Regions from separate parts of the Homo sapiens genome. Here regions 2, 3, 4, 5 and 6 are each linked to region 1. The links are contacts of gene promoters, found by promoter capture Hi-C in blood cells and fetal thymus (Javierre and others, 2016). All regions are on one chromosome and are shown on one strand. The core of a region is centred on a gene start or on the middle of the fragment in contact, and the rest is flanking DNA. Distances in the headings are between cores, read along the strand shown.

Evidence for each region. The method cuts DNA at HindIII sites, captures the fragments that hold promoters and counts their contacts. A CHiCAGO score of 5 or more calls a contact.
Region 2: a contact is called between a fragment that was not itself captured here and the fragment with the promoter of ELN in region 1, in 6 of 17 cell types (neutrophils, total B cells, naive CD8 T cells and 3 more). The highest score is 9.7, in neutrophils.
Region 3: a fragment that was not itself captured here is called in contact with the fragment with the promoter of ELN in region 1 in 2 of 17 cell types (neutrophils and naive B cells); the score reaches 5.8 in neutrophils.
Region 4: a fragment that was not itself captured here is called in contact with the fragment with the promoter of ELN in region 1 in 1 of 17 cell types (neutrophils); the score reaches 6.6 in neutrophils.
Region 5: a contact is called between a fragment that was not itself captured here and the fragment with the promoter of ELN in region 1, in 2 of 17 cell types (total B cells and neutrophils). The highest score is 6.7, in total B cells.
Region 6: a contact is called between a fragment that was not itself captured here and the fragment with the promoter of ELN in region 1, in 3 of 17 cell types (neutrophils, naive B cells and M0 macrophages). The highest score is 7.6, in neutrophils.

Annotation. Positions count from the first base shown.
Region 1 is chr7:74,026,311-74,030,334 of GRCh38, reverse strand. ELN (elastin) reads right to left here and starts at 2,162. Exons shown (of 33, transcript NM_000501.4): 1 at 2,066-2,162. The coding sequence starts at 2,147. RefSeq lists enhancers at 835-1,806, 2,779-3,751. The HindIII fragment of the contact is 20,716 bases long and covers 1-4,024 here.
Region 2 is chr7:74,377,267-74,380,970 of GRCh38, reverse strand. CLIP2 (CAP-Gly domain containing linker protein 2) reads right to left here. Exons shown (of 17, transcript NM_003388.5): 11 at 108-165. Among named protein-coding and RNA genes, the nearest start is that of GTF2IRD1, 75 kb to the left of the region's middle. RefSeq lists enhancers at 1-170, 171-671. The HindIII fragment of the contact is 8,624 bases long and covers 1-3,704 here.
Region 3 is chr7:74,508,258-74,511,866 of GRCh38, reverse strand. The region is part of intron 2 of GTF2IRD1 (GTF2I repeat domain containing 1); the gene reads right to left. Among named protein-coding and RNA genes, the nearest start is that of WBSCR23, 23 kb to the left of the region's middle. The HindIII fragment of the contact is 4,020 bases long and covers 347-3,609 here.
Region 4 is chr7:74,483,014-74,486,744 of GRCh38, reverse strand. All of the region lies in intron 1 of GTF2IRD1 (GTF2I repeat domain containing 1), which reads right to left. Among named protein-coding and RNA genes, the nearest start is that of GTF2IRD1, 31 kb to the right of the region's middle. The HindIII fragment of the contact is 5,637 bases long and covers 1-3,731 here.
Region 5 is chr7:74,354,485-74,358,534 of GRCh38, reverse strand. CLIP2 (CAP-Gly domain containing linker protein 2) reads right to left here. Exons shown (of 17, transcript NM_003388.5): 5 at 1,912-2,125; 6 at 1,058-1,255. Among named protein-coding and RNA genes, the nearest start is that of CLIP2, 67 kb to the right of the region's middle. The HindIII fragment of the contact is 1,747 bases long and covers 827-2,573 here.
Region 6 is chr7:74,417,159-74,420,769 of GRCh38, reverse strand. No RefSeq gene overlaps it. Among named protein-coding and RNA genes, the nearest start is that of GTF2IRD1, 35 kb to the left of the region's middle. RefSeq lists a silencer at 3,145-3,274. The HindIII fragment of the contact is 1,814 bases long and covers 836-2,649 here.

The sequences.
Region 1 (4,024 bases), core at 913-3,412:
CTTCCTTGGAGCCGCTGAACTTGCATAAGTGACACCCTCCTCCTTGAGGGAGAAGCCAGGCTCCCCCAGGACAGCCAGGTGAGTGGCAGTGAGCATGTGACTGAGCGCTCCACTCCCTGTGTTGGCTCCCCGACCTCTGCAGACTTCAGTAGCACTTCTGTGCAAAACCCCACACGAGCTCATCAGTTCACACACCCCTTATTTGGACCTAGCAAGTCCAGCCACCTGGGACAGAGCTGAGATTGATCTCTGCAAAGTGTGAGGCCAGCTGGGCGTTTAGCGGTGTCACTGAGGACACAAGGAGAGAGCTGATTCTGCCTAGGGCATGCCTGCTTTAAGGACTCAGCCCCAAGCCTTCCCCTCCCCAAATGTTGCCTGCTAGCTCACTCCTAACCCCCTTGCCCCTTGACCTGGGGCAGAGAGCTGGCTGATACTAACCCCCGGGGACTGCCTTAGCCTGCCGGAGCCTCAGCTTCCTTGTTTGTCAAGTGATGATAATAATTTCTAATTCTCAAGGTTCCTTGATGATGAACTGCCACCCTATAGGTGGTGGCCCCATCTGGGAAGAAGGGTGGCTGGGTGTTTGGGGGCTACACCTGGGGAGGAGGCTGAGACGGACCCGGGGCTGCTGCTTTCAGGCCCTGGCTCGTTGCCCCTGCTGGGGCCCGCCTGTGGGTACCCATGTCCCTTGGCCTCATCCAGGTCCAGCAGCGGACCCTGCACAGGAAGCTGTTCAATCTCACGGAAACAGCTGCAGCTCCTGCCCAGGCCCTTGACTCCACCCCGTGGCCCTCCCGCCCCCCACTCAGCGTTTGGTTCTCATGGCAAGGAGGACTCCCGAGGAAACCAGACTCCACCCAGACCCCCCTACCAAATGCCCTCCTTTTTCCCATGCCCGGGAGCCTCTTCTGTCCTCCCCCGTTGGCCGCGGCATAGCAGCCCCACAGGGCACACCCTCAAACCCCATAACCAACTGTGCCTGGGTTGGGGCACATAGCAGATGGCCCAGCAGTGCCCCAGGATCCACTCCAGCCTCTGTCTCAGCCACACTGCCTCTGCCAGGAGACAGACACCTTCTCCAGCCCGCCTTTCCATGCTTGCGTGCCACATCGCACACACATTCACACACACAGATGTACACACTCCATAACACACACAGTGACAGTCCACACCAGTGTCACACCTGGATGCCAGATCGCCCATGTCTACATGTGTACATGTCTACATGTCTGTCAGGTGGCAGACTTTTGCACACACTAAGGAGCAGCTTCATATACCTCCTCCAAACATACGCATACACCTGCCTAAGGATGAACCTGTGAGCAGACATATGTACCCCTCCAGAAATCCCTTTCCCTGTTCAGTGACACAGCCGGGCATCTGAACACATGCACACCTGTGCATGCACACATACACACACGAGCACACAGCACGCTCATTCCTGTGTGCATGCACACACACACACACACACAAATGCATACCAGGAGTCCCTGCCTGCCTCAGCAGGGAGAACACAGCAGCAGCTTCCCAACCTGCAAACCCATCCTCAGCGGAGCCCTGACCTTCCTGACGGGGGGATCCCGGCTTCCCAGGGGTCAAGGAACCTGCTGAGGTCACACAGCTCACTGCGGTTGAGCTGGTATCAAGCCCAGGTTCCCTGTCCCCAGGGCTGGTGTGCACCCCAGCTGTGTCCACAGGTGTGCAGACTGTGGTGTCTCCAGACCCAGGGGTTCCCGCTGGGCCCTCCCCCAGGATGCTCTGATCCCCCTACAGGGCGGGCACCCGGGCACCTGAGCAGGGGCCCCCTCAGCCCTCGCAGGGCAGCAAAGCCTGGATGCTGGGCTGGGACTATTCTGAGTCGAGGGTGTCTCTTTGACAGGTTCCTCCTGGGCACGGGGCTGGCTCCTGGGAGGGGCAGTTCCGAGGACCCAGTGGCTGAGGGGCTCCCACCTGGGACCCCTTGCAGTTCCCAGGGACGAAGGTCTCCCCCTTGAGCGTCTAGTCACCTGGCCCAAAGGGCCCGCAGCTGTGGGCAGCGCTGGGGACAGGGGCGAGGGGTCCTTACCTCCAGGCCGAGAGGGGTGGAGGATGGACAGCAGGAGCAGGAGGACTCCGGGCCGCGGGGCCGCCGCCGTCAGACCCGCCATCTCGGGGAGAAATGCCCCAGCCCGCTCTCCGCACCTCGTTTTATCCCCAAAGCCTAATTGTTGCCTCGTCGGCTGTGAGGGAAAGAGGGAGGGAGAGAGGGCGGGCGGGAGGGCGGGAGAGGGGGGAGGCCTGGGGGAGGGGGCCGCGGGGAGGGGACAATTACGAAAGGCCCGGCTCACAAGCCTCCCAGGCCCGGGCTGCTGGACTGCGAGCTTTTTTCCTTGACACACACACGCACACACATGCACACAAGCACACACTCACACACACACACTTTCCCCCATCTCTTTCCCGCTTTCCCTCTGCGACTGTTCTTTCGCTGCTGGCCCTGTTCCCGCCAGAAAGAGCGAGGGGGGCCTCTGCCAGGACAGCCCTCGGGAGAGGAAGCAGAAGGGAGGGCCTGGCGGCCAGGCCAAAAATCCCAGCCCCAGCCAAGGCCCGAGTGGCCAGGCCCCCGCCCCTCCGGCTGGGCCCCGGGCCCAGTGTGAGGATACGGGCCAGCTGTCCCGCGCCTCAGCCCCCACCCCGGCCCTCCAGACTCCCCAACACCCCCAGGTCTGGCTAGAGACAGGTTCTGCCCAAAGCTGGGGAGGGGAGGCATTGGGCAGGTCTGGGGGTTTGGGGGGTGCGATGTCTACAGAGGCCGGGGGGCTGCAGGTTGAATGGCCTGGAAGGTAGGCCCGGGTTGGTATTGCTCTGGGAGGGATCTGGGGGGAAGGTAGGGGACCCTGGACAGGGCTGCATTCTGCAGGGGCCAAGGTCTCTGCCTAGCGCCTGAAGCTGGGGAGGAGGTGTTGGGTGGGTCTGGGGTGGATGCCTGCAGATGCCAGGGGGTTAGAGGCAGGGGAATGGCTTGGGAGTTAAGGCCATGTTGGTGCTGTCCCCAGGGGCATCTGGAGCACATGGAGGATCCCGACACACAGGGTTCTATTCTGCATGGGTCAAGGTCACAGCCCTATACCCAGCCCCATGCAGGCCGCAGGGTCTGGTAAAAATCAGGCTGGATCCCCAGGTGCCCTGTGGGGGAACAGGGAGGTGGGAGCCCCCCGCAGACTGACAGGCAGCCCAGCTTCCCATTATCACTGGGTCACCTCCCATCCCCACGCTGAGCACAGCTAGCGCCCACACCAGTCTGGGAGCTTCTCGACTGCTGTTCTCCCGGCCCCTCTGGGAAGGCTGACATTCCGCTGGTGGCCAGGAGGGGGCGGCCTGCACTGAAACAGCTGGGACCACGTTCCTGGAGAACTCTGCATTTCTGCCCCCAGGACTGAGCTGGACGGGGACCCTGGGGGATTTTGGGGGTTGGAGTGTGGGATGGAACAGGGGAGGGTCGTGTCCCCCACCCCTCACTTCCCACTACTGCTAGAGGAGAAGAAATGTGAGACCTAGAGAATAGGAGAGGGAAACTTGTTCCTTGTCCTAGGTCACAGCCAGTCAGGGAACAGCATGGAAGCCACACGCCCTGTGGGCTTTTCCCTGCACCACGATGGCTCCGAGGGATGAGTTAAAGACCCCTTGTGGAGGCAGGAGCACTGTGGCAGTCTGGAGTGCCAGCAGGGGTGGCTCAGCGTGGAAAGGTCAAATGCAGGCATTGGTCAAAGGCAGGTATTGGTGGACCTAGAAGTAAATTTCTGGCTCTAGCCTTTCTGGTAGGAAAACCTCTCCACAGAGCATCAGTTTCCTTATCTGTCTACAGGTGATCAGTATTCCTAGCTAAGAGATTATTGCAAAGACAAATACAACGTGGTCTTGTATTTCTGCTAGATCAAAAATGCTCTGTGTTCAGCTGGTGCTAGGACTGGTGTCAATACCACAGTTGCCGTCACTCGCTCTGCAAGTACTCTGCTTCTAGGACAGCTATCAGGCTTTGGTCTAT
Region 2 (3,704 bases), core at 596-3,095, 350 kb before region 1:
TTACCAAATGGCAGATGATGCAAACCAAAATGTGACCCAGCAGGAAGGCAGAGCCAGCCAGCCTCTTCCCAGAGCCCAGAGTCCCGCCCGGCCTGGTGGCCACTCACCCTCCACAGTTTCCTTCGTCCTGATCGTCTCCTCTGAAATGTCATTCGACTCAATCATCTGCAAAAAGAGCCCCTGTAAGGGGGATGCTCACCTCTGCCCCTTGGCCCCAGCCCCAGCCAGCCCAGCAAGCACACCTGCAGTTTGCACACCCTACTCCTACAAAGGGGGACCTCAGTGACGGACTCAGGGACTTGCTGCGGTGGCAGGGAGTGCAGACGTCCTCAGTCGGACCTCCCTGACAACAGAGGACCCCCATTCTGCACCCAGCTCTGCTGAAGGCCGCCTGTGCAGCTTATACATGAATACCTCCTACCCTTCCTTTGTTGAAAATGTTTATTATATTAAACAGATGGCTCCTTCCCTGCAATGCCTACAGAAATTTGTCCTGGGAATTTGTTTCTCTGTCTCCCAGAGACAAGACTTCTGGCCTCAGTTTCCCATCCATCAAACAAATATTGGCTGCTTTGGGTTAGTGTGTGCACAGCGTGCTTGGGGCCACCTCCTGGAGGGACTTCATTAAATGCTAGCTTCTTTCTCTCCAACATTTCTTTTTAATAATAAACCCAGAGGCCAAAGAAGAAAAGACCTATTAAAAAAAAAAATCAGCCTGGCACACATCACTATGACAAAAGTCAAAACACAACCAATAGGCTCCCTGCCACTCTTGGCAGGAGTTTCCAGTCTCCTGCCCAGGCTGGCTGTCCTCCGAGCCAGCCAGAGTCTGGCACTGCAGATCAGGGAAGCACAGAGCTGAGTAGGCAGTCACCTCTATCATCCTGCCCCTCATACTTCTGTTCATACATCCCAAGTCCCATTTGAGTCTCAATTAGTTGTAATGAACTAAGCCCCTTGGATCATAATTTATATACGATGCAGTAATGAGGCTCACACTAAATTTTTCTTTTTCTTTTTTTTTGAGAAGGAGTCTCGCCCTGATATCCAGGCTAGAGTGCAATGGCTCAATCTCAGCTCACTGCAACCTCCACCTCCCGGGTTCAAGCGATTCTCCTGCCTCGGCCTCCCGAGCGAGTAGCTGGGATTACAGGTGCCCACCACCACGCCCAGCTAATTTTGGGGTTTTTTTATTATTATTTTTTGAGATGGAGTCTCACTCCGTCGCCCAGGCTGGAGTGCAGTGGCGTGATCTCGGCTCACTGCAACCTCTGCCTCCAGGACTCTGAAGCGATTCTCCTGCCTCAGCCTCCCGAGTAGCTGGGACTACAGGCGCCCGCCACCATGCCCGGCTAATTTTTTGTATTTTTAGTAGAGACGGGTTTTCACCATGTTGGCCAGGCTGGTCTCAAACTCCTGACCTCAGGTGATCCACCTGCCTTGGCATCCCAAAGTGCTGGGATTACAGGTGTGAGCCACAGCACCTGGCCACTAAAATAATTTTTAAAATTCCCATATTTACTACCTGAGACCAAAAGTCCAGTTGTGCTTAGGCCTAAACCTCTGAACATGGGGACATATGCGTTTAGACTAAGCCCCAGTGTATACAGAAAATCAAGAGATGGGCTTTTTTTTTTTTTTCCAGACGGAGTCTCCCTCTGTTGCCCAGGCCGGAGTGCAGTGGCACGATCTTGGCTCACTGCAACCTCCACGTCCCGGGTTCAAGTAATCCTTGTGCCTCAGCCTCCTGAGTAGCTGGGATTACAGGTGTGAGCCACCGCGCCCGGCCAGGAGATGGGCTTTCTGGGGCCACTACTACTTCTTGGTCCAAGGGCACCTGTGAATGAGGGGCAGGGACTGGGGGAGGCATCCTCAGGCCTCTGTCCCCCATGCTCTGTGGAACCACAGCAACCTCAAACCTCCCCGCTCAGGGAATTCAGTTCCTGAGTTGCAGGCTGTTTCTGCCTGCCCTGAACAGCTAATCAGGCCATGTGCACGTAAGCTAATTTGGGTTTCTTCCTTTTCTTTCAGCCCAGGATCCTGGAAGAGCACTTGCTAAAAAACAAAATCCCTTCCTGGGAGAAGGGGCAGGAAGGCCATTACAAGGGACCTCAAGGCATGATGCAAAAAGATTTCCTTTTAGACAAAAAAAGCCCCCTGGATTCATTAGTCCTGAGAACTTACTGCCCACATGCTAAATTCTCGGGTTTTTTTGGTTTGTGTATTTTCTTGAGTCACAGCCTCACACTGTCACTCAGGCTGGAGTGCAGTGGTGCAATCATAGCTCACTGCAGCCTCAAACACCTGGGCTCAAGTGATCCTCTTGCCTCAGCCTCCAGCGTAGCTGGGGACTACAGGTACACTACCACTGTACTCGGCTAATTTTTTATTTTTGTAGAGATGGGGTCTAACTATGTTGTCCAGGCTGGTCTCAAACTCCTGGCCTGAAGCAATCCTCCTGCCTCAGCCTCTCGAAATGCTGGAATTATAGGTGTGAGCCACCACACCCACCCCTAAATTCTGGTTTGAATATACATGAGGGTGGTCAGGTGCAGTACCTACTCCCTGTAATCCCAGCACTTTGGGAGGCAAAGGCGGGCAGACAGCTTGAGCCCAGGAGTTTGAGACCAGCCTGGGCAACATGAGGAAACCCCATCTCTACAAAAACTATAAAAATTAGCCAGGTGTGGTGGGGCACACCTGTGGTCCTGGCGACTTGGAAGGCTGAAGTGGGAGGCTCGCTCAAGCCTGGGAGGTTGAGACTGTAGTGAGCCATGATCATGCCACTGCACTCCAGCCTGGGAGACAGAACAAGACCCTGTCTCAAAAACAAAACCAAAAAAAAGGCCAGGGATGGTGCCTCACGCCTGTAATCCCAGCACTTTGGGAGGCCGAGGCGGGCAGATCACCTGAAGTCAGGAGTTTGAGACCAGCCTGGACTACCTGGCGAAACCCCACCTCTACTAAAAATATAAGAATTAGCTGGGCGTGGTGGTGCATGCCTGTAATTGCAGCTACTTGGGAGGCTGATACAGGAGAATTGCTTGAACCTGGGAGGCGGAGGTTGCAGTGAGCCGAGATCCCACCACTGCACTCCAGCCTGGGCAACAAGAGCAAAACTCCATCTCAAAAAAAAAAAAAATGTATGTGGGGGAACTGGAAACTCAAGAATCTCTGAGTACAATTTGTATACAGGCAAGAGTCCGTTGCTAGCCATCCCTCCTATGAATTAATTCCTGTTGTCTTGGGCACTCTCTGTCAGCCCCACAGGGAATGGGGTTGAACATCTCTGCCACTGAGAGGCTGTGGACCTGGGAAAGTCTTGGTTTGCTCACCTGTGAAATGGAGCCAGTATCAATCTAAGGATGTTAAGGTGAAATGGAGTCACATAGGGCCTGGCATAAGACGTGGTACCCAGAGCCACTCAAAAGGCCCTTCCTGGCCCTGGTGGAGTGGGCACAGCCCACCTGGGTGTTGACCTCCTCAGAGGGGCTGGGAGGATGGGTTCAGCTGAAGGAAGAAGGGGTAGATGCTTAAGGAATTTCTAGATTTGGAGCAAAATTGACATTGGTGACAGCGACCTCTTTAGGGCCACCCCCTCTAGCCTTCCAGACCCCACTCCGGGAACTCCCACATTCTGGGGAAGTACTCGTTGGCACCGTTGCTAAAGTCTCATTAGGACTGGCAGAAAGGGGGCTGCCGCT
Region 3 (3,609 bases), core at 1,107-3,606, 480 kb before region 1:
ACAACCAAGACCACCAGCATCTCAGGTCTCTGACCTACCCCACCAGGAAAACCCTGACTGTGAAGCCTGTGGCAGGCAGTTGTGTCTAATAAATGCTGGTTTTCATCTGAGTCAGGTAGTGCTGGCAGCTATAAAGTCTGGCTTCCAAACGCAGTTCTGTGCTGCGTGGCCTGGGACAGGTAACCTCTCTGGGCCATAATCTTGCCTATTGTGCCAGCCCCAGCCTGGAGTCGCTCTGGTTAGGAAGGTGCACGCGGCGTGGGGCCAGGAAGCCTGTCCTCCAGGGTCCCTACTGGAAAATTAAAACACAGGGCATTCATTTTCTTCTAAGATGAAAACAAAAGCTTGCTGTTCCCTTTCTGCGCGGGAACACTGTAGACTATTAACAAAAAATAAAACAAATAAATCCAGCTGTTTCTCATCCATCACAGCTGAAAGAGCTGCTTCATCCCACAGTCACCGCTCAGCTGAAGACGCCGAGACCATGGCAGAAAACTCACCCACCTAAAGGCACCCAGAGCTGGTGGGGAAGAGGATGAGATTGGGGGCGGGTGACGAAGGCACATCCCTTCAGCCCACCCTCCCTACAGGTCACCAAAAGACCCTAGCATTTGGAGGAGGCTGGACTTAAGTTACTGCTAAGCAAATATCATTGTCACCCATAGGGTCCCTCAGGAAACCCTTAAAAGGCCCAGGGACGGGGGAGCCTGTCTTGTTCGCACTGCTAGGATAACTATAGGGTCATGTGCTCCTCCAAGGAGGCTCTGAAACACTCACTAGACCACTGCTGCCAAGTAGAACTTTTTTTTTTTTTTTTTGAGACAAAGTCTTGCTCTGTCACCTAGGCTGGAGTGCAGTGGCACGACCTCGGCTCACTGTAACCTCTGCCTCCCAGGCTCAGGCGATTCTCCTGCCTCGGCCTCCCGAATAGCTAGGACCACAGGCATGCATCACCATGCCTGGCTAATTTTTGTATTTTCAGTAGAGATGGAGTTTCACCATGTTGGCCAGGCTGGTCTCAAACTCCTGGCCTCAAGTGATCTGCCCCACTCAGCCTCTCAGGGTGCTGGGATTATATGCGTGAGCCATTGCGCCTGGCCAACCCAGTGTAACTTTCTATGACTATGAAAACATTCTACCTCTGCACTGTCCAATCCATAGACACCAGCCACTTCTGACTACTGAGCACGTAAAATGAGGCTGGTGCAACTGAACAACTGAGTTGTTTATTTCGTTTTAACGAATTCGAATTTAAATGAATCAGGGGCAGTGGCTCACACCTGTAATCCCAGCACTTTGGGAGGCTGAGGCAGGTGGATCACCTGAGGTCAGGAGTTTGAGACCAGCCTGGCCAACATGGTGAAACCCCGTCTCTACTAAAAATACAAAAAAATTAGCCAGGTGTGGTGGCGCACACCTGTAATCCCAGCTACTCCAGAGGCTGAGGCAGGAGAATCACTTGAGCCCAGGAGGCGGAGGTTGCAGTGAGCCAAGATCGCGCCATTGCACTCCAGCCTGGGTGACAGAGCAAAACCCTATCTCCAAAAAAAAAAAAAAAAATTGCAAATAGCCACATGTCACTAGTGGCCATGGCATCGCCCATCACTGCCCACATCAGCCACACCTCCATCAATGCCAAGCTCACAGTACTTTGGGACACAGGGCTGAGCTCCTGGGGCCCCCTCCTCATGAAAGTCACTCTGCATAGGGGAGGGGTCATCATGGAGAGAGTGTGGCACCCAGCCCCTTTTCCAGGGGTGTCTCCCACCGCTGCCCCAAACACCACTTAAGCAGCCCTTGAGCCACCTACAGCAGGAACAGCTTGAAGGAGGTCCTTTATTTTTCGGGGAGACTTTGTACCCAGAAGTTCGCTCTAAAAACTGGTCTTGCTGGGCCAGGCGCAGTGGCTCACGCCTGTAATCCCAGCACTTTGAGAGGCTGAGGTGGGCGGATCACGAGGTCAAGAGATTGTGACCATCCTGGCCAACATGGTGAAACCCGGTCTCTACTAAAAGTACAAAAATTATCTGGCCACGTGTGGTGGTGGGGGCCTGTAGTCCCAGCTACTGGGGAGGCTGAGGCAGGAGAATTGCTTGAACCTGGGAGGCGGAGGTTGCAGTGAGTCGAGATCACACCACTGCACTCCAGCCTGGCGACAGAGCGAAACTCCGTCTCAAAAACAAAACAAAACAAAACAAAACAAAACTGGTCATGCTGTGTGACTTTGGGCAAGGTACTACCCTCTCTGTGCTTCATCATCCTAAAATGCAGGAGCGCAGCTAACTGATGTTAGACAGATTTTTAATTTTATTTTTATTTAAAAAAATTTTTTTAATTGAGAGAGTCTCCTCTGTTGCCCAGGCTGAAGTGCAGTGGCACGATCTCGGTTCGCTGCAACCTCTGCCTCCCAGGTTCAAGCAATTCTCCTGCCTCATCCTCCTGAGTAGGCAGGATTACAGGAATGTGCCACCATGCCAGTCTAATTTTTTTATTTTTATTTATTTTTTTTTGAGACGGAGTCCCCCTCTGTTGCCCAGGCGGGAGTGCAGTGGTGCTATCTCTTCTCACTGCAACCTCCACTTCCAGGGTTCAAGTGATTCTCCTGCCTCAGCCTCCCGAGTAGCTGGGATTACAGGCATGTGCCACCAGGCCCAGCTAATTTTTATATTTTTACTAGAGATGGGATTTTGCCATGTTGGCCAGGCTGGTCTCGAACTCCTGACCCCAAATGATCCACCCGCCTCGGCCCCTAAAAGTGCTGGGATTACTTGCGTGAGCCACCGTGCTGGGCCAGATTTTTTTTTTTAACACTTCCATCACAGAACTTCCCCCCAGGAAAAGGCTAGAGGAAAATGGTATTATGATGTCCTCATTTGGGATAAATTGTTATAGGTCTAGGTATGTAGGCAATAGCGCCAGGGGAGTGATGTATTATACAAAGCTCGGTTTCTCTCTTCCTGCCCGAGATGCAGTTAGAACTCTTGCTTTAACGTTGGGGATTACATCTTTCTAGTGAATGGCTCCCCACACATTATCCCCCAGGTCACCTGCTAGGAGATAGGCATGTGGTTCATCCCAGGGACAAAGTGGGAATGGCAAGAGGGGTGAAGGGACAAGGGGACGAGGGCGGAGAGCCAGTGTTTATTCCAGGGCTAGATTTTTTTTTTTTTTTTTTTAAGACGGAGTCTTGCCCTGTCACCCAGGCTGGAGTACAATGGCACGACCTCGGCTCACTGCAACCTCCACCTCCCAGGTTCAAGCAATTCTCCTGCCTCAGCCTCCCAAGTAGCTGGGATTACAGGCGCATGCCACCACGCCCAGCTAATTTTTTGTATCTTTAGTAGAGATGGGGTTTCACCATGTTGGCCAGGCTAGTCTCGAACCACTGACCTAGTGATCCACCGACCCCGGCCTCCCAAAGTGCTAGGATTACAGGCATGAGCCACTGTGCCCGGCCCCAGGGCTAGATTTTTATGTACTGGATCTCGCTGAAGTCTCACATCTCACACCCTTGATGCAGGCATCGTGGCCCTAGCTGCAGTCAGATAAACTGAGGTTCAGGTCAGTGAAAGCTCCTTCGAGTAGCTGAGGTAGGACTTGAGCTACAAG
Region 4 (3,731 bases), core at 934-3,433, 460 kb before region 1:
CTGCCTCAGCTTCCTGAGTAGCTGGGACTATAGGCATGAGCCACCATGCCCAGCTGAACGTGCTGGGATTGTGAGGCAGACAGATGCTGTGTGGCTGGTACCTCAATCCCCATATAACCAACTTCTCCCTTGCTCTCCTCTTCTGTAGGGGCCACAACACAAAATCCTCCCATTCCTATACTCTCTTGCAGCCAGAGATGACCACAAGACACAGTCTAACCAGTGAGGCATTCCCAAACAAAAGAGCAGAGTTTCCCTGGAAGCAGGCAATGGGGGGCTCAATCCCTTACTCCCTATGCCCTGCCTGGTGGCTGACATCCACTTTAGGCCAGGATGACCAAAGCCCTCAGCCAGAGGAGAGAGAGAGAGATGGCGCAGGCCCCTCAGATGTGCCTGAGCAGCTGCCTGCGGCTGGACCACCCACCCATGCCTCCTGTTACACGAGACACCCCTCTCTCCTAAGCCTCTGTTTCTCAGGTTGCTTGCAACAAACACATTCCTAACAGAAATAGACTCCACGGCGGTGTGGGCGGATCACTTGAGGTCAAGAGTTCGAGACCAGCCTGGCCAACATGGTGAAACCACATCTCTACTAAAAATACAAAAATTAGCTGGGCGTGGTGTTGGGCACCTATAATCCCAGCTACTCAGGAGGCTGAGGCAGGAGAACTGCTTGAACCTGGGAGGCGGAGGTTGCAGTGAGCCAAGATCATGCCACCGTACTCCAGCCTGGGTGACAGGGCAAGACTCCATCTCAAAAAAAAAAAGAAACAGATTCCATGGGAGGCATTTTCTTTTCTTTCTTCTTCTTTTTTTTTAAAGACAGGGTCTCACTCTGTCACCGAGGCTGGAGTGCAGAGGCACGATCATAGCTCACTGCAGCCCCACCTTCCTGGACTCAAGCAATTCTCCTGCCTCAGGCTCACGAGTACCTGGGACTACATGATTGCGCCACCATACCCGGCTAATTTTTTAAAAAATTTTTAGTAGAGACAGAGTCTTGCTATGTTGCCCAGGCTGGTCTCAAACTCCTGCCCTCAAGTGATCCACCTGCCTCGGCCTCTCAAAGTGCCGGGATTATAGGTGTGAGCCACTGCTCCCAGCTGCATCTATTTTTTTTTTTTCTTTGAGATGGAGTCTTGCTCTTTTACCCAGGCCAGACTGCAGTGGCACTATCTCGGCTCACTGCAAGCTCCGCCTCCTGGGTTCACACCATTCTCCTGCCTCAGCCTCCCGAGTAGCTGGGACTACAGGCGTCCGCCACCACGCCCAGCTAATTTTTTGTGTTTTTAGTAGAGACGGGGTTTCACCGTGTTAGCCAGGATGGTCTCGATCTCCTGACCTCGTGATCCGCCCGCCTCGGCCTCTCAAAGTGCTGGGATTACAGGCGTGAGCCACCGCACCCAGCCAGCTGCATCTATTTTTAAAGGCCTCAGTCTCCAAGACTCGTCTGATGAATTCCACTGTCCATCAATCCTGGCCATTGAGGAAAGTGTGTCCAAACATCCATTCCAGGTTTCTCCTGCAGCAGCCCCACTGCTGCCTCCCCTGGGGCATCTGTAGCTAGAGGATGCCTTGATGCACATCCCTCTGGCATGATCCCACTCACAAGCCTCTTTCCTGCACCCTAAGCCACCCAGCTCCGGGCCCTTGGTCAGAGGTGTCGGGAGGTGGCATGTCTCCCACCCACGCATCTGAGGCCAGAAGAAGTCTCAGTGGGATTCTGGAAGGAAGGACTCAAGCATTGGATAAGGGGTTGAAAGAGGCGATTTCTCAGATCCACTCCAGATTTGAGATCCCTCATTACAGCAATGTTGTTAATAAAACAGTAATAGTCTCAAAGACACATCTGTACAGCCATGTTCATAGGATCAGTATTCACAATAGCCAAAAGGCAGAAACCGTCCCAGCGTCCGATGATGAATGGATAAAAAACCACAGTCTATCCATACAATGGAATATTACTGAGCCTTAAAAAGGAAAGACAGGCTGGGTGCAGTGGCTCATGACTGTAATCCTAACATTTGGGAGGCTGAGGCGGGTGGATCACCTGACGTCAGGAGTTTGAGACCAGCCTGGCCAACATGGTGAAATCTCGTCTCTACTAAAAATACAAAAATTAGCTGGCTGTGGTGGCAGGTGCCTGTAATCACAGCTACTCGGGAGGCTGAGGCAGGAGAATTGCTTGAACCCGGAGGGTGGAGGTTGCAGTAAGCCAAGATCGCACCACTTCGCTCCAGCCTGGGTGGGTGAAAGAGTGAGACTCCAATTCAAAAAAAAAAAAAAAAAAAGAAGGATGGCCGGGTGTGGTGGCTCATGCCTGTAATCTCAGTACTTTGGGAGGCTGAGACAGGAGGATCACTTGAGCCTGGGAGGTAGAGGTTGCAGTGAGCTGAGGTCACACTACTGCACTCCAGCCTGGGTGACAGAGTGAGACCCTGTCTCAATTTAAAAATAAAAAAAGACCATCATGTTAGGCCCGGTGATGCATATACCATCTCTCCAAATCCTTGACTCCATGGCTTTGGTTCCTGAAGACCCAAGTCCAGGTTCATTGCCATTACGCTGACAGAGAATTTAGGGACACAGGCTTTCAGCCAACACAAGGGAACATTCCTAATGGGAAGAACTGTCCCAGAATGGAAGAACAAGCTGCTGTGTGGGCACTGAGTCTCCATCTCTGGGGGCTGCTCAGTGGAAGCTGCCCACTTATCAAGGCCTCTCAGAGGGTCTTTGCACCTGGGAGACTCTGGCTGTATCTACACGGCTCCTTCCTTCCACCAAGAAATCTGGCCTGGAGGTAATTCAGGCAGAGCAGAAGTGAGACACTGCATTTTTGCTCCACTTAGAAATGAGCCAAGTTGGTAAATAAGATTTTTTTTTTTTTAAAGAGACAGAGTCTTGCTCTGCCACCTAGGCTGGAATGCAATGGCGTGATTATGGCTCACTGCACCCTCAAACTCCTGGACTCAAGCCATCTGCCGGCCTCAGCCTCCCGAGTAGCTCCCTGCTAATTTTTTTAAAAATGTTTTGTAAAGATGGAGTCTCGCTCTGTCACCCAGGCTGGAATGCAGTGGCACGATCATGGCTCACTGCAGCCTCAAATTCCTGGACTCCAGCCATCCGCCTGCCTCAGCCTCCCAAGTAGCTGGGGTTACAGGTGCATGCTGCCATGCCTGATTTTTAAAAATTTTTTTTGTAGAGACAGTCTTGTTCTGCCACCCAGCCTGGAGTGCAGTGCTGCAATCATAGCTCATTGCAGCCTCAAATTCCTGGGCTCAAGCGATTCTTTCCCTCAGCCTCGCAAGTAGCTGGAACTGCAGACACATGCCACCATGCCCAGCTAATTAAAAAAAAAATTTTTTTTTTTTTAGAGATGGGGCCTTGCTATGTTGCCCAGGCTGGGCTCAAATTCTTGGGCTCAAGCAATCCTGCCTCAGTCTCCCAAAGTGCTGGGATTACAGGAATGAGCCACTGTGACCGGCCTAAATAAGATCTTAAGAGCAAACTTCAAACACTTTGGAAAACAACCTCTTAGCACTGAGAAGTATATGCTTAGCATCACAGCACTGAGCTAGATGGGCCCCTCATCTAACCACCTGCATGTCCATCTAGGGAAACCACGGCCCAGAGGCGTCAGACTGAACCCCAGATCTCTGCACACCCAACCCAGGCTCACAACATAATACAACTTGCTCTCCTGTGGGCTTAACAGCTACGCTGATTGCAAA
Region 5 (4,050 bases), core at 451-2,950, 330 kb before region 1:
CTTGCAGTATAATAAGTAGCCGGGGAAGAAAAGCAGATTAGGCCAAGTGCAGTGGCTCACACCTGTAATCCTAGCACTTTGGAAGGCCAAGGATTGCCTGAGGCCAGGAGTTCGAGACCAGGCTGACCAACACAGCATGACCCCATCCCTATATTAAAAATATTTTAAAAAAATAAAAAAGCAGGGCTGGGCATGGTGGCTCACACCTGTAATCCCAGCACTTTGGGAGGCCAAGGCAGGCAGATCACTTGAGGTCAGGAATTCCAGGCCAGCCTGACCAACAGGGTGAAACCCCATCTCTACTTAAAATACAAAAATTAGCCTGGTTTGGTAGCAGGTGCTGTAATCCCAACTACTTGAGAGGCTGAGGCAGGAGAATCGCTTGAACCTGGGAGGTGGAGGTTGCAGTGAGCTGAGATTGCACCACTGCCCTCCAGCCTGGGGAACAGAGTGAGACTCTGTCTCATAAAAAAAAAAAAAAAACCCTTGCAGTGGCTCACACCTGTAATCCCAGCACTTTGGGAGGCCAAGGCGGGTGGATCACGAGGTCAGGAGTTCGAGACCAGCCTGACCAACATGGTGAAACCCCGTCTCTACTAAAAGTACAAAAATTAGCTGGGCATGGTGGCACATGCCTGTAATCCCAGTTACTCAAGAGGCTGAGGCAGGAGAATCGCTTGAACCGAGGAGGTGGAGGTTGCAGTGAGCCGAGATTGCACCACTACACCCCAGCCTGGGTGACAGAATGAGATTCCGTCAAAAAAAAAAAAAGAAAGAAAGAAAAATAATAAATAAATAAATAATTAAAAAGCAGGATATACAAGCTTGTAACCAGATTCTGAAAGTAGGTGTATGTATCCTTATACATAGGCAGAAAAGACTGGAAGGAAATTCACCAGGTCACTGAGGCTTATCTCTGGAAAGCGGGGGACAGGTACTGCTTGTGTTATCTTCATATTTCTCTGCACCCACCCCCTCCAGGGTCTCCGCTCTGAGTGGGTGAGACTCTATGAGGCTGGCTGGAGAAGCTCTGCCCCCAGCCCCACCTGCCACTCACCTGCTCATGCTGTGCCTTGAGCAGGGCAATCTCCTTCTCCACCTCGCAGATGTGGCTTGTGGCCTTGGCCACCTCAGCCCGTTCCAGGTCTCGTTCAGCCAGCAGCTGCTCAATGTGCTGCTGCTTCTCCTTCAGTGCCTCCTGCAAGGCCGTGGTGCCCGAGATCTTGCGGGCGTAGCGTGAAGAGGTCTCCGTGAGCTGCAGGAAGGTGTGGATGCAGGCGGGTCTCAGGGATCTGAAGCACTGCAGGGCAGACTGGCTCTGTCCAGCCTAATCTACAGCAACATAGCAGGTGGGAGCCCAAGTGCCTTGACTCCCAGGGTCCTGCTCTTCCCCTGCCAGTACTCTGACATCCTGGCCCCTGCTGACTCACCCAGCGGGGAATCTTGATGTTTGAGATTCAGGAAACTCCCCATCTCAGGAGAGTCAGCTCCTGATAGCCAGAGCCTCTGACTCCCTCACTTTGGCCACTTTTTCCTGGGAAAGGAGGAACCTCCAATCCTAGATTGGGTTTGGACAGAATGCCCTCTGCCCATAGCCACCAAGCAGCCTCCTCTTTTCCCTTCATCCAGGGTTTGATGCCAACCTTTCTGAACTCCCTGCCCTGCATCTGTATAACCCTCCTTAACTTCCAGAGAAAGGCTTAGGGTTCCAATAAATCAGTTATATAAAAACAGCAATAAAGGTAAATGGCTCAATTTTCCCTATTAAAAGATATGCACTTTCTTCTTTGTTCAAAAATCCCAAACTGGAACTAGAGTAAGTCAGGGGCAGACCAGAACACCTGGATCTCTTACATCCTCACCCCTCCCAAACGCACACCAGAGAATCCCCTTCTGCAGCCCCACCCTCACCAGGCCACTGCGGCTGGGCCGACCCCCCACGGAGGAGGCCACAGAGCTGACGGAGCTGATGGAGGAACTGCTGGGACTGTGGGTCAGTGCTGACACACCCATGGCCATACGCTTGGTCTTCTTGGCCTTGGCTGGGCTGGTAGATGGGAAGCCGATACGGATCACTTTGTGGATGGGCGCGAAGAGACCAAACTTGGGTGGGCACTGGAAGTACCTGTGGAAGCAGGAGAGACCCAAGCTGCTGTCACGGCCCCAAAGCCTGGAGAGCCTCCCCTGCCTCCTCTGCCTCTTCAGAGCCTGGCAGAAAGAGAGAAAGACACCTCCTTGGGGCCCATGTGGAAAGACACTCCAAGGTGGAAATCTTCCAGGTGGAGAGATAGGACTCTCAAAAAAAGGATATAGGTGAGTAGGGTCTGAGAGTCTCTGCAGCTGTGAACAGCCAATGAGAATACTCTTGGAAGTAGGAAATAATTACTGGGACCCACTTTGTGCCAGTCTCTTTAAATGAATGCTCATTTCCATCCCCCAAAGTTATCTACATTCACAAATGAGAAAATTTAGGCTCAGAGAGGTTAAATAACTTGCCCACAGTCACACAGCTGGTTACGCAGCAAAGCTGAGACTGGTCCTCCAGTGTGCTGGGCTCCAACACCCGCTAAGCTTGGCTCCCACAGACTGTTCAGAGACCCCAGCCACAGCTGCAGCCCCACTTTCAGGCTACCCTCAGACCATCCCCAGAATGAAGGATTCCCATCAGCTCTCTGCCCACAGAATCCCTGCATAGAGAAGCAAAAGCTTGAAAGAGAAACCTTGGGGTGGGATGGGGACTGCTGTCCAACCCACCCCTGAATTCTGAAAGCAAAAGTGAGTCAAAAGAAACATTCATCTTGCAAACAGGAAGGCAAAGCATTGTTATGGAAACCCTGGATTCTCGTCTTCTGTCAAGACCTCTCTGGTCACGGATTCCACACTGGACCACGAGAACTGGGCCCATCCAGTTTTTTTCTTTCTTTCGAGACAGGGTCTGGCTCTGTTACCCAGGCTGGAGTGCAGCGGTGCGATCATAGCTCACTGCAGCCTCAACCTCCTGGGCTCATGCAATCCTCCCACCTCAGCCTCCCAGGTAGCTGAAACCACAGGTGTGTGCTACTACGCCCAGCTAATTTTTGTATCTTTTGTAGAGATGAGGTTTTGCTATATTGTCCAGACTAGTCTTTAACTGCTGGCTTCAAGTGATCCTCCAGCCTCAGCCTCCCAAAGTGCTGGGATTACAAACATGAGTCACCATGCCTGGCCCCCATCCAGCTTCTGATTCACTTGAAACCGCTGCCCCATTCTGCCTTTTCCCACCTCCAGGTCTTTGTTCATACTGTGCTCTCAGCCCCTGCCTAGCACAGCCTCTCTCAAGCCTCTTCCAAAAGGAAACCCTACCTTCTTTCGAGGCCTGGTCCAAGCCTAGCTCTTCCCCTGTGCCATGGTGACCACTCCTGCTCAAAGCAGTCACAGCCTCGTCTCAACCACAGACTCCAGTACAGGGACTGCACAGGGACTCAGGTGGCCTCACCTTAGTCCACATCCGTGACAGACATGGTCCACTTACCACATCACTCCCCCACCTACCATAAGCCCAGACACAGCCTTAGACCCTCCTAACCCAGCAACGCCAGCAGTCAATTCCTTTTCATCAGAGATGCTGTGAGACCTGGAACCCATCTGTGAGGCCTGCCTCTGGCCATATAGCGCTGGGCATTGTCTGATTATTTCATGTGTCATTCAGGGGACCCCAATGCCAGATGACAGGGACTGCTGCCTCACCTTTTATTTATTTATTTATTTATTTTTTATTATTTTTTTTGAGACAGTCTTGCTCTATTGCCCAGGCTGGAATGCAATGGCGTGATCTCAGCTCACTGCAACCTTCGCCTCCCGGGTTCCAGCAATTCTCATGTCTCAGCCTCCCAAGTAGCTGGGACTACAGGTGCATGCCACCATGCCTGGCTAATTTTTTTGAGACAGAGTCTCACTCTGTCACCCAGGCTGGAGTGCAGTGGTGCGATCTTGGCTCACTGCAACCGACGCCTCCCCAGTTCAAGTGATTCTCGTGCCTCAGCTACCTAAGTAGCTGGGATTACAGGCGTG
Region 6 (3,611 bases), core at 493-2,992, 390 kb before region 1:
ATGGCTCACTGCAGCCTCGGCCTCCTGGACTCAGGTGATCCTCCCACGTCAGCCTCCCCAGTAGCTGGGATTACAGACATGTGCCGCCATGCCTGGGGTTTCACCATGTTGCCCAGGCTGGTCTCGAACTCCTAAGCTCAAGCAATCCTCCCGCCTCGACCTCCCAAAGTGCCAGATTACAGGTGTGAGCCACCATGTCCAGTACAGAAAAGTTGTTTTAAAGAAAACAATTCTGGGTGGATCACCTGAGGTTAGGAGTTGAGACCAGCCTAACCAACATGGTGAAACCCTGACTCTACTAAAAATACAAAATTAGCTGGGCGTGGTGGCGCATGCCTGTAATCCCAGCTACTTGGGAGGCTGAGGCAGGAGAATCGCTTGAACACGGGAAGCAGAGGTTGCAGTGAACAGAGATTGCGCCACTGCACTCCAGCTTGGGTGACAGAGCGGGACTCCACTTCAAAATAAAGAAGGAAAAAGAAAGAAAGAAAAAGAGATAAAGGAAGGGAGGAAAGAGAAAGAAAGAAAGAGAGAGAAAGAGAGAAAGAAAGAGAAAGAAGAAAGAGAAAGAAAGAAGGAAGGAAAGAAAAAGAAAGAAAAAAGAAAGAAAGAAAGGAAAGAAAGAAAAAGAAAGAAAGAAGGAAAGAAAGAAAGTGGGTGGGCAGAAAGGAAGGAGGCAGGGAGGGAGGAGGGAAGGAAGAAGAGAAGGAGGGAGGGAGGGAAGGAGGGAGGGAGGGAAGGAGGGAGGGAGGGAAGGAAGGAAGGAAATCAATTAATTAATAGAGTTACTAAAAAATATTGAATAAATAAATGAAGAAAACTATAGCCAAAAGCTTGAACATTTCGGATCAAGATGGTCAAATAAACTCAAATTACAAAAAAAAAAAAAAAAAAACAAAAATGAGGACAATTAGATGACTTGGAAAGGGTACAGAAAGAGGACAGTTTGTCAGGATGCGGGGGCAACCTGGCAGTGTCTGGAGCTCTGGGAGAGCAGTTGAGGTGGAGTGCAAGATTGAAGATGGAAGTTTGTGCAGTGGTGGAATTGATCAATCCGTCTGACAGCCACTCGTGGGCACCTGTGTGCCACGCCCTGGGCTGAGAGTCAGAGATGTGGGGGTGGCAGTGGTGGCTCATGCCTGTAATCCCAGCAATCTAGGAGGCTGAGACAGGCCAATCGTTTGAGCCCAAGAGTTCGAGACCAGCCTGGGCAACATGGCAAAACCCCATCTCTCTAAAAATACAAACAATTAGCTGGGCATGGTGGTGCACACCTGTAGTCCCAGCTACTTGGAAGGCTGAGGCAGGAGGACGGCTTGAGCCCAGAGATGAAGGCTGCAGTGAGCTGATTGCACCACTGCACTCCAGCCTGGGCAACAGAGTGAGACTCTGTCACACACACACAAGGAAAAAAACACACAAAAATTTCAGTTAGGAGGACTAAGTTCAAGAGATCCAAGTACAACATGGTGGCTATCCTTGATAACAATGTGTTCTAAACTTGCAAAGTACCAAGACAGTGGATTTTAAGCGTTCTCAGCACACTCCCCACAAAAAGACAAATGAGGTAATGCATATGCTAATTAGCTTGATGTAGCTGGTCCACACTTTATACATATTTCAAAACATCATATTGCACACCATAAATAGATACAATTTTTGTCAATTTAAAAAAAGAGGTTAGAGATATGTTGCGGTGCACACAGAGCACTCCCCTCTAGGGAGAGAGGTGTGAATCAAGTCCCCGATGGGCGCGTCTCTGCAGGCCGTGAAGAAAAAGTGTGTGTGTGTGCATGTGTGTATGTGTGCACAAGTGTGGATGTATATGCATGTATATGCGTGTGTGTATGTGTATGTGTATGTATATTGTTTGTGTGTATATATGTGCATGTTTGTGTATGTGAGTATACATCTCTTTGTGTGTAACGTGTGTATGTGCGTGTGTACCTGTGTACATGTGTATATGTGTACATGTATGTGTGTCTGTGTGTATGTGTATTTGTCCGTGTGTACATGTGTCTGTAGTGTTTGTGTGTCTGTGTATGTACGTGTTTGTGTATGTGTATGAGTTTTTGTGTATGTGTACGTATTTGTGTGTGTCTGTGTACGTGTCTATAGTGTTTGTGTATGTATGTGTTTGTGTATGTATATGTGTATGCATGTGTGTACGTGTGTACATGTATGTGTGTACGTGTGTGCATGTTTATATGTGTCTCTGTGTGCGTGTATATATATATGATGTGTACATGTATGTGTGTCTCTGTGTATGTGTGTATGTATCTGTGTGTGTGTGCCCATGCATGTGTGTGGGTCACTTGGAAAGGCCTGGGGGTGTGGGGTTGGAGGCAGGATCTGAGGCCTGAGCTGGGGGTGGGGGACAGGGCCCAGAGTGTGATGAATATGATGGACCCCAGGCTGCGGACCCGGTGCGGGGCTGTGAAGGTGCTCCTGGTGAACTCCAGGCTTGGGGCTGCTGGGAAACCGAGGCACAGCTGTGCGTGGGGCCAGCTGGAAATTGTGGCAGCGGGAGAGGGTGGCTGGGAGGGGGTCTAGACGGGGCTGGAGCCACCCTGGAGGCAGCAAGTCCTTCCCTTTGCTGGTAGCTCCAGAGAAAGGGCCCACAGCCTTACCCAAGGTTCCAGAGAAGCTTCTAGAAGTGAGCATCCTGGTTATTCGTCCTATACCATGTTCCTTCTGAATTTACACTGGACCCCAACTTCAGTCTCAAAACACTTCCCAGCCTCTCTTGGGGAGTGGGAGCGGGACCAGGGTGACTGCCCAGCTGAGGTTGGCAAGGGGGACGTGATGGGAGGGTTCAGGACTGAGAAAGTAGGCCAGGGTCAGCTCTGTGGAGGGAGCCCAGCCTGCGGGGAGGGGAGGCAGTGCTGTGCGGGAGGAGGGAGGCCAGGACAGTCCTGGCCCGGCACGGTCCCAGAGAGGGAATGAATGTCCACGCCCTGGCCGGCCTCTCTCCCAGGGATGGAAGTGTGGACACACACGGATACTCACAGAGAGGCCTGAACCAAGTCTGGGAGGCAACAGGGACAGGGAGCTCTGGGACTAGGAGCCGGGACACCTGGGTCCCCGTTGTTGCTCCCACGTGCAAAGCTGGCCTGTGTCTCCAGCCTTGCAGCCCTAAAGCCCAGTCTGGACAGAGGGTGGAATGGACAAGCCGCAGTGAGAGGGCCGAGGGTGACACCTGCTGGTAAATGGGAGGCATCACAGGCAAGACTTGGCTGGTGGGTCTCTTGCCGCCCAGGGGTGCGTGGTGTCACCCACCCTCCAGCCTCCCCTCCTGTTCTTCACCCCAGGACCCCACAAAAGGAGAAGGCAAATGTTTCCCGATCAGACCTGGAGGGTTTGATCAATGTCTCCCTCTCAGGCAGAGCAAAGAGAAGTGGGGCAAGAGAAGTCCCAGTTTATTTTTTTGAGACGGGGTCTTGCTCTGTCATCCAGGCTGGAGTGCAGCGGGGCTCACTGCAACCTCCGCCTCCTGGGCTCAAGCCATTCTCCTGCCTCAGCCAACCAAGTAGCTGGGATTACAGGCGCCTGCCGCCACGCCCGGCTAATTTTTGTATTTTTAGTAGAGATGGGTTTTCACCCTGTTAGCC